Linked DNA regions of Homo sapiens: region 2 is linked to region 1. The links are contacts of gene promoters, found by promoter capture Hi-C in human tissues and cell types (Jung and others, 2019). All regions are on one chromosome and are shown on one strand. The core of a region is centred on a gene start or on the middle of the fragment in contact, and the rest is flanking DNA. Distances in the headings are between cores, read along the strand shown. Region 1 holds the start of ZNF382 (zinc finger protein 382). Region 2 has its middle 53 kb from the start of ZNF568.

Region 1 (5,605 bases), core at 1,363-3,862:
GGTGGATCACCTGAGGTGGGGGGAGTTCAGGACCAGCCTGATCAACATGGAGAAACCCCGTCTCTACTAAAAATACAAAACTAGCCAGGCATGGTGGCGCATGCCTGTAATCCCAGCTACTCGGGAGGCTGAGGGAGGAGAATCGCTTGAACCCAGAAGGCGGAGGTTTCAGTGAGCCAAGATCGCACCATTGCACTCCAGCCTGGGCAACAAAAGTGAAACTCCGTCTCAAAAGAAAAAAAAAAAAAAACACGTGATGCGGCCAAACCTCATGCAAGAACTAGCTGGTACCATATAAATCTCCTAAGGTATCCCCTCGGAAAAACTTCCTGCCCTTCTTAACAGCTCTCTCTGCACATACTCTGCAATAATATTCTAACTCCTAAGGTCCTCTAAAACAAAAAAAGTTACTATAACCATTCAAACGATCTCCTATCTTGCTGTTTTTCCACTCATGTCTCTGAAGAAAATCTAAACTATCTAATGTGTAATTCTACCTAAGCAATTGGTCTCCTCCGTAACAAATCACCGTGTGAAGGCAGACTATTTCTATGTCATGAGAATGCTTAAACAAAAAGAGCACACAGGAGAAGTGAACATACTGTCAAGGTGTTATATGAAAATTAACTCTAGGAAGGGCATCTGATGAGGTACTGGAAAGAAGGAGATCTGTCTTCATAATGTCATCAGTAACTGGGAAGAGAAGGACTAGAGACCAGGTAAATAGATAAGTCACTATTTGGTGAGCATTTCAAATGAAGTTATTCCACATCCTGAAAAACAAAAATGCATTTCATAAAACAAAGAAAAAAATCAAAATGACCTCCAGCTTTGCTTTAAAATGTGCAACTACAATGCTTTTCTTCTCTCAGAGCTCTTCTCTTGGAATACAGCAAAATGTGGAAAGAAAGGGAATCACAATATACTCAGCCTTTCTTGGAGCCCAGACAGGCTAAATAAGAACACATTCTTCACCACCGGCAAGCTTCCATAACCCATGCTGAATATGACCAGATGGAAGTATGAGAAAGACTGGAATATTGTTGACTCTTCCCTTCATAAAGAAAAGTCAGGTTCACCAAAGCCTGGGACTGAAATGTTTCTGTATTCACAATAATTTCCTTTAGACAGCTATGAAAATGCTGTGGATCTGCAATATTCAACTTGCCCCCACAGAGCTTCCAAAAGGGATCTTTTGGCTAGGCACGGTGGCTCACGCCTGTAATCCCAGCACTTTGGGAAGCCGAGGCGGGTGGATCACCTGAGGTCAGGAGTTCGAGACCAGTCTGACCAACATGGTGAAACCCCGTCTCTACTAAAAATACAAAAATGAGCCGGGCATGGTGGTGCATGCCTGTAATCCCAGCTACTCGGGAGGCTGAGGCAGGAGAATTGCTTGAACCCGGAAGGCGGAGGTTGCAATGAGCCGAGATTGCGCCACTGCACTCCAGCCTGGGCAACAAGAGCAAAACTCCATCTCACACACACACACAAAATCTTTGGAGAAACGAATCCTACTCCTGGGGCCTCAATATCATATCTTCCCAGAACCTTGCCTTGGGAGCAATTCCAGCTCTAACATCTCCATATCAAACACGAGGCTGTGCATATCAGAACACAGCCTTGTCCATGTGAAACACAAGGCTGTGCTTTTTCAGTTGGAAACTTCATTCTGGATCTCAAATATCCAACTTTCTTTTCGATAGCCATTTGACTGCACACTGTGCAACGTGGTTATAAGGTGAAATGACTGAGGCAGTGAAAGAAATCCCAGTATAACAAACTCCAAGAAACCACGTAACTTAAAATTGGCCCCAGAGGTTGGCGAGGCTGCATGCCACTGTGTATTATGCATTATGAAAGCGACAGGGGCCATGCTTTAGAACAGAAGGTCTCAGAGTCTTCACAGACACAGATCGAGCCATACGGGGACCTTGTCCACGTATTCCTGAGCCCCAGAACTGCAGAAATCAAACTCTACAAAAGCTGCACCAGGCCAGTTTTGATCACAGTCTCCAGTGGGTCACAACAGCGCTGTCACAGGATCACTGATAACAGCATGACACATTCATAGTCACCGCTCAGCGCCGTCACACAAACGGCCCCGCCCCCACTCAGTCCCGCGGGCCCAATCGGGGACAGTCAGGGCTGTCCCGGGCTGTGCACCTGCTGTGCACACACACCCCCTGCTGTGCACACCCCCCGCCCCCCCGGGACCATCACAGGCGCGCCCACTCACACCACCACACACGGACGCAGCCACAGAACGGCACACACAAACACAATCACACAGTCTCCCTCCCCAGCAGGTGACTTGCACACAGGCCTGGGGCTTCTGCCTCCACAAACCCTCTCCGCGTCCCATGAACCCAGGTCCCCTGCCGTGAGCTCTTCTCGCATCCAGACCCGGGTCACCTCAACTCACCACATGGAAAACGAACACCAGGTCAACGGAAAAGGGAGCCGGGGTCCTGGCAGAAGCGTAGTGCCAGCCGCAATAGGGCGGCCGTGGGTGCAAACGGAGGGGAGCGCCGGCAGCTAGCACCGCGCGGCGACTAACGGGCCGCCCCGGAGACTCCTGGGAGCTCAGGCCCACGCGCGAGTGCGCAGGCGCAGACGACTCACCCTGGGCCGGGGGTGAGGCTTGGTGGGTGCCAGGGGTGCTGAGGAGGCCAAGGAGGGCACTGGGAGCTCCGTTCCGGGAGAGCTGTCTAAGGACGCGGAACCGGGTGGGGAGGCCAGGGAGGTAACCAAGAGTCCGAGCCGGGCCTGGAAATTCTGAGGAGGAAACCGGGACCGCGGTATCCAGACGCTCCGATCTGTACGAGCCGGGCCTCGGGCGTGGTCCATGGGCGTGACCTTGAGGGTGACCCGGAGCGAGCTCCGCGAAGGGGGATTTTGCCCGTTCTGATCCCGCGGAAGCGCCATCGCTGGCGGCGGGTCCCCGCGCGGAGCGGGCGCTGTGTGTTCGCGCGCGCGGGCGCGCGCTGAATAGGGGTGGCCTCCTGCGCCCAACCTGCTGCATTTTAGGTGCTTGCCTCTCTTTGGGATGTTGTGGCCGATTGTGTGTGAAAAGTGAACGGAGTAGTGTTGCTGCGCGAGGTTTCCTCTGCGTGTGTCTATTTTTAGATTAGGTGTGAGTCGCATTTGAGACTGCCTTTGAGTGTGGAGAATTGCAAGTGATTTGTAGGTGTGGTTGTGACTGCCTGGAGTCGTGTTAGCTGCTGTCTGAGGTTGTGAATGACAAGTGGGGCCTGTAGGTTGGTGGTTCTCTGAAGGATGTTTGATTGACTGTGACTCTGCATGTGTTTGTAACCTACTGTTACTTCTGGTGGTTTTGTGGCCTTAGTGACCTAAATATTTGAATGATTGAGGAACTCTGTTATGACCATGGCTAGTTGGTTATGTAAGACTTGATTATCTGAATAGTAGCCATTAAGCCTGCCTCCAAAACTGTAACTAAGTAGCAATTTAGCAAATAAAATAGAGATAACAGTATCAGAGGGGAAGAGATGATTTTCATAATTCCCAGATTCATTTCCTGGAAACACCATATTAACTAAAACCAGTATGTTGAAATGAATAGCATTCCATTGGGGACATGCAGGAAATTTTTTTTTTTTTTTTTTTTTTACCATAACTACCACTTTTGTTGTTGTTTTTTGTTTGTTTTAAGACAAGGTCTTGCTCTTTTGCCCAGGCTGGAGTGTAGTGGCATGATCTCTGCTCACTGCCACCTCTACCTCTGAAGTTCAAGTGATTCTCCTGCCCCAGCTTCCTGAGTAGCTGGGACTACAGGCTTGTGCCACCACGCTCGGCTAGTTTTTGTATTTTTAGTAGAGATGGGGTTTCACCATGTTGCCCAGGCTGGTCTTGAACTCCTGACCTCAAGTGATCCCCTCCCCCCGCCCCCTCGGCCTGCCAAAGTACTGGGATTACAGGTGTGAGCCACTGTGCCTGGCATAACTACCACTTTCAACACTTGTATATGAGTGAGGTTTCCTACTCCCTTAGGCTTGCTAAGATAATAAAAAGTATTTGATAGATTTTTAATAAGTCCAGTCTCACTGTAGTAATTAAAATAGTTATTTTGCGGGCCTGGTGCAGTGACTGATGCCTGTAATCCCAGCATTTTGGGAGGCCAAGGTGGGCAGATCACCTGAGATCGAGAATTCGAGACCAGCCTGACCAACATGGAGAAACCCCATCTCTACTAAAAATACAAAATTAGCCGGGCATGGTGGTGCATGCCTGTAATCCCAGCTACTCAGGAGGCTGAGGCAGGAGAATCGCTTGAACCCGGGAGGTGGAGGTTGCGGTCAGTCAAGATTGTACCATTGCACTCCAGCCTGGGCAACAAGAGTGAAACTCTGTCTCAAAAAAAAAAAAAAAAAAGATTATTCTCAACTACAACATAGACCAGATAGGCAAAGATTTAAAAGTTGTCAACTGTCTTCATCAGGGCTTGGGAAGGTATTCTCATCCACTACTATCAGTGTAAATTGGCAAAAAGTCCAAGAAGAACCGTTTGGAAATACACAGTAAACCTGTGGTTAGAGGTAGATGGAAGGCAGAGCTGCAGAGGGAAAAACACAGTGTTCCCTCTCTTCAAGCTAAAACAGGTTCCCCAGAATCCTGTATACTTTACCAAGAGACTGGGTTTCTGGTGTTTGTGAGGGAGCCTGATTTGTCTGTTTTCCCACTAACTACCATCCTGGACATCTGAAGGGTACACAGGGTGGACAAGTGCTGAAATAGTGAACATTCATGCAGATTTAACTGAGTTAATTCTGGGAGTTCTGAGTCAAGTATGGTCTCACATACGTATATCCTCCATCTTTGCTTTCTCAGGACTGTTTCTTTTTCCAAAAGAGGAGCTCAAAAGAGAAAGTTCATCTAGAAATCTCAAAGCCATGTCTCAGGTGAGATGATGTTTCCTCTCTTTCTGAAATAACTTTTTTTCATGGTGTATGAACATGAGCTTCACTGTCCTTTAACCTTCCCTGATATTGGGATTTGCTTCCATGAAATTAGTCTTCAGTCAGGGCCAGATTAGGCTGAGGCAGGCAAGTGGCATGAGGTGAAATATTTAAGGGGTACCCTCAGGGCTGTGCCCTCCTAAATTTTGCATTCTAGGTGCCTCACCTGCCTCACCCTGTATCCAGCCCTGTTCACAATTTCTCCATTCCAACCAAATCAACTTAAGCCTTCCCCAAGTGTACCTTCTGGTTGTACATATTCATTGGGTATATCATTCATCATCTCCTTTCTCAGTCTTCTCACAAACAAACTGCTGGAATAGAAAGGTATTGTCTTGATTTAAATGGGAATATATGGCTTGAATGAATTTAACTTGTCCTGATGCTGATTTGAGACCTAAGCTGTGAGTAGTCATGGAGCAGACGTGGAAAAACCTTGATGATCTCCGCTAGCCTAGGTTTTGCAATGGTACGTTGGGAAATAGAAGTGGTAGATCCCAGCATTAGTTTCTGGAAAGATGTCCTGCTTTGTGAGGTGTTTAGGATAGCAATTTGATTGCAGGCTTGTAAAGGAAACACGTTTTATGTTCCTCCTCTCTGATCTTTTTTCATTCATGTCTGCTAGC
Region 2 (5,605 bases), core at 1,640-4,139, 360 kb after region 1:
GTGAGCCGAGATTGCACCACTGCATTCCAGCCTAGGCAACAGAGACTCTGTCTCAAAAAGAAAAAAAGAAATGGGGTCTTGCTTTGTTTCCCAGGCTGGTCTCCAACTCCTGGCCTCAAACAATCCTCCTGCCTTAGTCTCCCAAAGTATTGGGATTACAGGCGTGAGCCATCATGCCTGGTCCATCTTCTCATTTGGATAGCTGTACCTTGCTAGGTAGAAATAGAGTTGTTTCATTGTTGTAAAGGAGCTCAAGTTTTGTATAAAAAAGTGTGTAGAAACTTAGTACCCAAAGGGTTAGACTAGGTCAGTTATCAGTGTATTGCCTCTCAGCTCCAAATTAACCTTTTCAACACCAGTCTGTGAAAGTGGACAACTTGAAGCATTTCTCCTTTACAGTGAGTGTGATATTAAGCTTTGTCAGTAGAGGGTGTGGACATTGAAGAGGGACATTGAAGGAAGAAGGGGTCTTTCTGGCTCAGGTTGCAGCATTTTGCTTTTCCTTGCTCTTGCTTCATGGTCCATCAGTGGGAGGTGTGTATGTGAGAATATTCAGCGATGCTCTGCGCCAGCTGTGCTCCAGAGCATGCAGTCTCTTGGAGATCTTGCATATCTGGCCTGGGCCTGGCAGACTACCTTGCTGAGGCCCTTCTCATGAGAGACCGTGTGCTCCAGACCTCATGCTCACAGTGGCACCCAAACTCCTCTGCATCCTGGCCATCAGCCGTAGCTTGCTTGTGCAATGGGGAGTAATTTCCTGTAGCTGTCCTGATGTGGAAACCATGCATCTCAGGCCTAAGGCCTACAGTGCCACTCCAACTCTCTTTGAGTACCTGGCAACGTAGCAAACTTCTCCAGCATCACACTGAGCTACAACCACATTCAGTGAGGTTTGAAACTCACCCTTGGGAAAGACCTCCTTCCAAGTATGTTTTCTTTTGGGTACTCTCCCTCAGCTCTAAAGGGCCTTTTAGAGTCCTCCTCATGGCCCTATAGTTTCTGTCCTATCATTGCTTAATAATTCTTTATATTATAATTCTGTTTAAATTCCTTTGGCCAGGCACAGTGGCTCATGCCTGTAATCCCAACACTTTGGGAAGCTGAGGTGGGTGGATCACCTGAGGTCAGGAGTTCAAGACCAGCCTGGCCAACATGGTGAAACCTCATCTCTACTTAAATACAAAAGTTAGCTGGGCATGGTGGCAGGTGCCTGTAATCCCAGCTACTTGGGAGGCTGAGGCACGAGAATCACTTGAACCCGAGAGGCAGATATTACAGTGAGCTGAGATAGCACCCCTGTACTCCAGCCTAGGCAACAGAGCAATACTCCTTCTCAAAAAAAACAAAACAAACAAGCAAAAAATTCCTTTGTGGTTTCTGTTTCCTGACTGTATCCAGACTGATACAAACTGACCATAGAAGCTGGCTGCTGATGCTTAAAAAGCTTCTCATCCATCCATTTCTGGCAAAAGCCCATCATCATTCACCAAGACCTTCACACTTAAGCTTTCCATGATACCCAACTGCTTAAAGTCTCATAAGGCAGGACAGTTTGCCATCAACCAAAAGCATAATGAGTTGTTTCATCACAATGGTCCTGTCTCCATGGCAGATCATAATGTCCACAGTAAAGAATCTCATCTTTCTCTACAAGATAGGTGTTTTTGCCCCATTAGTGCTTGGAATAGAACACTGGGCATGAAGGAGAATCTCAACAACATGAAAATGCATATCTCTTAACAGTGGTGTTGTAGTTTCTTGTGGGCTAAATTGAAAACCCAGGAACAAAATAAAAACTTGGTTGTATTTGAAATTATCCCATAAAATATCTAAGATGTCCTACAAAGCATATAACATGGATCAGTTATCCAACACTGAAGAATAATATGTATATATGTGTGTCAACTGTACACCATAATATCCATACATGGTAGAAAGTCCACTTATAAAATGTAATTTCATGATTCATATTTATATGAGAAAAATACATACAAATTTATATGAGAGTAACACATATTAATTTACATGAAAATGTAACATATACCTTATATTAAATATGCATATGGGCCAGGTGCAGTGGCTCACACCTGTAATCCCAACACTTTGGGAGGCCGAGGCAGGTAGATCACGAAGTCAGGAGATCAAGACCAGCCTGGCCAACATGGTGAAACCCCATCTCTACTAAAAATACAAAAATTAGCCGGGCGTGGTGGCGGGTGTCTGGAGTCCCAGCTTGGACCCAGGAGGCAGAGGTTGCAGTGACCTGAGATTGCGCCACTGCACTCCAGCCTGGCAACAGAGCAAGACTCTGTCTCCAAAAAAAAAAAAAAACTATATATATATATATGCATATGATTGTTAAAAAAGAGGAGATTCATATGGTCTGAAGTTATCATCCCTCAGGTTACTTACCAATTAAAAAGGGGAAAAATAACTACAATGGAGACATGTGGCCATTACCATCTTAGCCAAGTGATCAAATTGGCTCACTGCCTCAAAAAAAAAAAAACATGTTTAGTACTGAAGTATAATGATTCTTGAATTTATTTTCAAATGGTAGAGAGAGAATCAAAAGTGGCAAATTGTTAAATTGTTGACAATTTGTGAATCTAAGGGACAAGCATGAATGAGTTCTTTTTTTTTTTCTTTTCAGAGTCTTGCTCTGTCCCCCAGGCAAGAGTGCAGTGGCACAATCTCAGCTCACTGCAACCTCCGCCTCCTAGGTTCAAGCGATTCTCCTGCCTCAGCCTCCTGAGTAGGTGGGATTACAGGCACGTGCCACCATGCCTGTCTAATTTTTTGTATTTTTAGTAGAAACGGGCTTTCACGGTATTAGCCAAGATGGTCTCAATCTCCTGACCTCCTGATCCAGCCACCTCAGCCTCCCAAAGTGCTGGGATTACAGGTGTGAGCCACCACACCCAGCCCCAATACAAGTTCTTTGTAGTATTCTTTCAATGCTTCTGGAGATTTGAAACTTGCCAAAATAAACAACTGAAGTAAATGTGCCTAGGAAGTGGGAAGGCACTGAGCTTATTGGGGACATACCCAAAGACCCCACTGGAACAGAACTAAAGAACCAGTTCTCTGATTCGTTACCATAAGAGAGGAAGTTTCAGGAGAAGGAATGCAAAAGTTCTATATCCTAATTGAAAGAGAGCGAAAGAAAATATCTCAAGCAAGGAAGGACAGGCTTATCAAGGATATAGTTTTTTGATGAATGACAGGTCATCCCAACCTCTTCCTGCTGAGGGAAGATTTCTTCATCTAGATACTGAGGTCAGAAGTGTGAAATGAGTCCTGTGGGCTAAAATCCAGGTGTCATAAAACCGTGTTCTTTCTCTAGGTTCTAGGGGAGAATCTATTTCCTTGTCTTTTCCAGCTTCTAGAAGCTGCCTGCGTTCTTTTGCTTATGGCACTTTCCTCCGTCTTCAAAGCACATCCCCGCTTTCGTTGTCATGATTTCCTCTCTGACTCTGACCCTCCTGCCTTCCTCTTTTAAGGACCCTTGTTGGGCCTACTCAGTAATCCAGCATAATCTTCCCATCTCAAGATTTTTTTTTTTTTTTTTTTTTTTTTTTTTTTGAGATCAAGTCTCACTCTGCCGCCCAGGCTGGAGTGCAGTGGCGAGATCTTGGCTCACTGCAACCTCTGCCTCCCGAGTACCTAGGACTACAGGCATGCACCATCATGCCTGGCTAATTTTTGTATTTTTAGTAGAGACTGGGTTTCACCACGTTGTCCAGGCTGATCTCAAACTCCTTACCTCAAGTGATCCGCCCACCTCGGCCTCCCAAAGTGCTGGATTACAAGCATGAGCCACGATGCCTGGCCTCCATCTCAAGATTATTAGTTGAAGCATATCTGCTGCAGAGCCTCTTTTGCCATGTAAGATATATTCACAGGTTCTGGGGGTTAGGATTTGAACGTCTTGGGGCATTATTCTACCACTTTGTCTTATTGGCATAATTTATGAATTTCTTTTTTCCCAATCCTTTGACATAACTATATAAATTTTATACATTATTGAAATCAGCCTTTTATTTGGAACTTTTGCATCTATAACCACAAATGAAATTAATACTTTTCTTTTGGCCTGTCTTTATTGAATTTCTTTTCTTTTCTTTTCTTTCTTTTGGAGACAGTCTCGCTCTGTCGCCCAGGCTGGAGTGCAGTGCCCCAATCTTGGCTCACTGCAACCTCTGCCTCCGGGTACAAGTGATCCTCCAGCCTCAGCCTCCCCAGTAGCTGGAAGTACAGGTGTGCGCCACCACATCCGGCTAATCTTTGTAGAAAGGGGGTTTTGCCATGTTGCCGAGGCTGGTCTCAAACTCCTAGCCTCAAAGTGATGCTCCTGCCTCAGCCTCCCAAACTGCTGAGATTACAGGTATGAGCCACCATGCCCGGCCATGTCTTTAATAAATTTTATGCCACTTAGACAAAAATTCATTGGAGAGCATATATAAGTTGGATATAAATACATTGAATAATCATTATTAGTTCAAAAATTAGCTAAAATTCAGCTATAACCATCTGGGTATGGTACCTTTTTAATTGTACATACTTTAAAATATCTTAAATAAAATAAAGCATTTCATTATGGTTATTATTCTGTTCAGATTTTCTACTTCTTAGTAGAAATCAGTGATTTAAATTTCATTAGAAAATCTACAGTTTCCTCTACCATGGTTATAGAGTTGTACATAACAGCCTCAAAATTCTTTTAAACCCAGGCCTGGGCACGGTGGCTCACTCCTGTAATCCCAGCACTTTGGGAGGCTGAGGTGGGCGGATCACCTGAGGTCAAGAGTTTGAAACCAGCCTGGCCAACGTGATGAAACCTCGTCTCTACTAAAAATACAAAGAATACAGGCGGGCACCTGTAATCCCAGTTACTTGGGAGGCTGAGGCAGGAGAATCACTTGAACCCGGGAGGCAGAGGTTGCAGTGAGCTGAGACGGCATCACTGCACACCAGCCTGGGCAACAAGAGCAAAACTCCGTCTCAAGAAAAAAAAAAACTCTTAAACTCTTTATGTTTTTTTTTTCGCATTTCTAATGTTTTTGCTTTATTTTGCTCTTGTATATCAGTCTTGTGTTTCATTTATCTTTTAGTACTAAACTGTGGATTTTTAAATTTTGGTCCAGTAGTTTGTTTTCTAGTTTGTAAACTAGAAATACTTAAGAATTTTTTTTAATGAAATGTTATAAGTAATGTTTCACAAGAAAGAAACGATAATGGCCAAAAATATAAGGGACTACTTTTTAACTGAAAAGAAAAAAAGTCACAATTACACATCCTAGAAGTTAACTGCTGTTAACAATTAACTTTAAAGATATTATTGCCCAAGTGCCTATGTTTCTGCTATTTATAACTTTGTTTTTTTTCTTTTTGAGACGCAGTCTCGCTCTATCGCCAGGCTGGAATGCACCTCCTTAGTAGCTGGGACTACAGGTGCACACCACCACGCCAGGCTAATTTTTGTATTTTTAGGAGAGACGAGGTTTCACCATGTTGGCCAGGATGGTCTCGATCTCCTGACCTTGTGATCTGCCTGCCTCGGCCTCCCAAAGTGCTAGGATTACAGGCGCGAGCCACTGCGCCT

Evidence for each region. Contacts are between HindIII fragments. The study calls those that stand out against the background at their distance.
Region 2: a contact is called between a fragment that was not itself captured here and the fragment with the promoter of ZNF382 in region 1, in 2 of the 25 tissues and cell types used here (aorta and liver).

What each region holds. Positions count from the first base shown.
Region 1 is chr19:36,602,701-36,608,305 of GRCh38, forward strand. It overlaps ZNF382 (zinc finger protein 382), which reads left to right and starts at 2,613. Exons shown (of 5, transcript NM_032825.5): 1 at 2,613-2,647; 2 at 4,852-4,922. It also overlaps a transcript of ZNF529 not described here. RefSeq lists enhancers at 1,885-2,024, 3,005-3,064 and a silencer at 2,585-2,644. The HindIII fragment of the contact is 9,037 bases long and covers 1-5,605 here.
Region 2 is chr19:36,966,228-36,971,832 of GRCh38, forward strand. It overlaps a transcript of ZNF568 not described here. Among named protein-coding and RNA genes, the nearest start is that of ZNF568, 53 kb to the left of the region's middle. The HindIII fragment of the contact is 7,190 bases long and covers 1-5,605 here.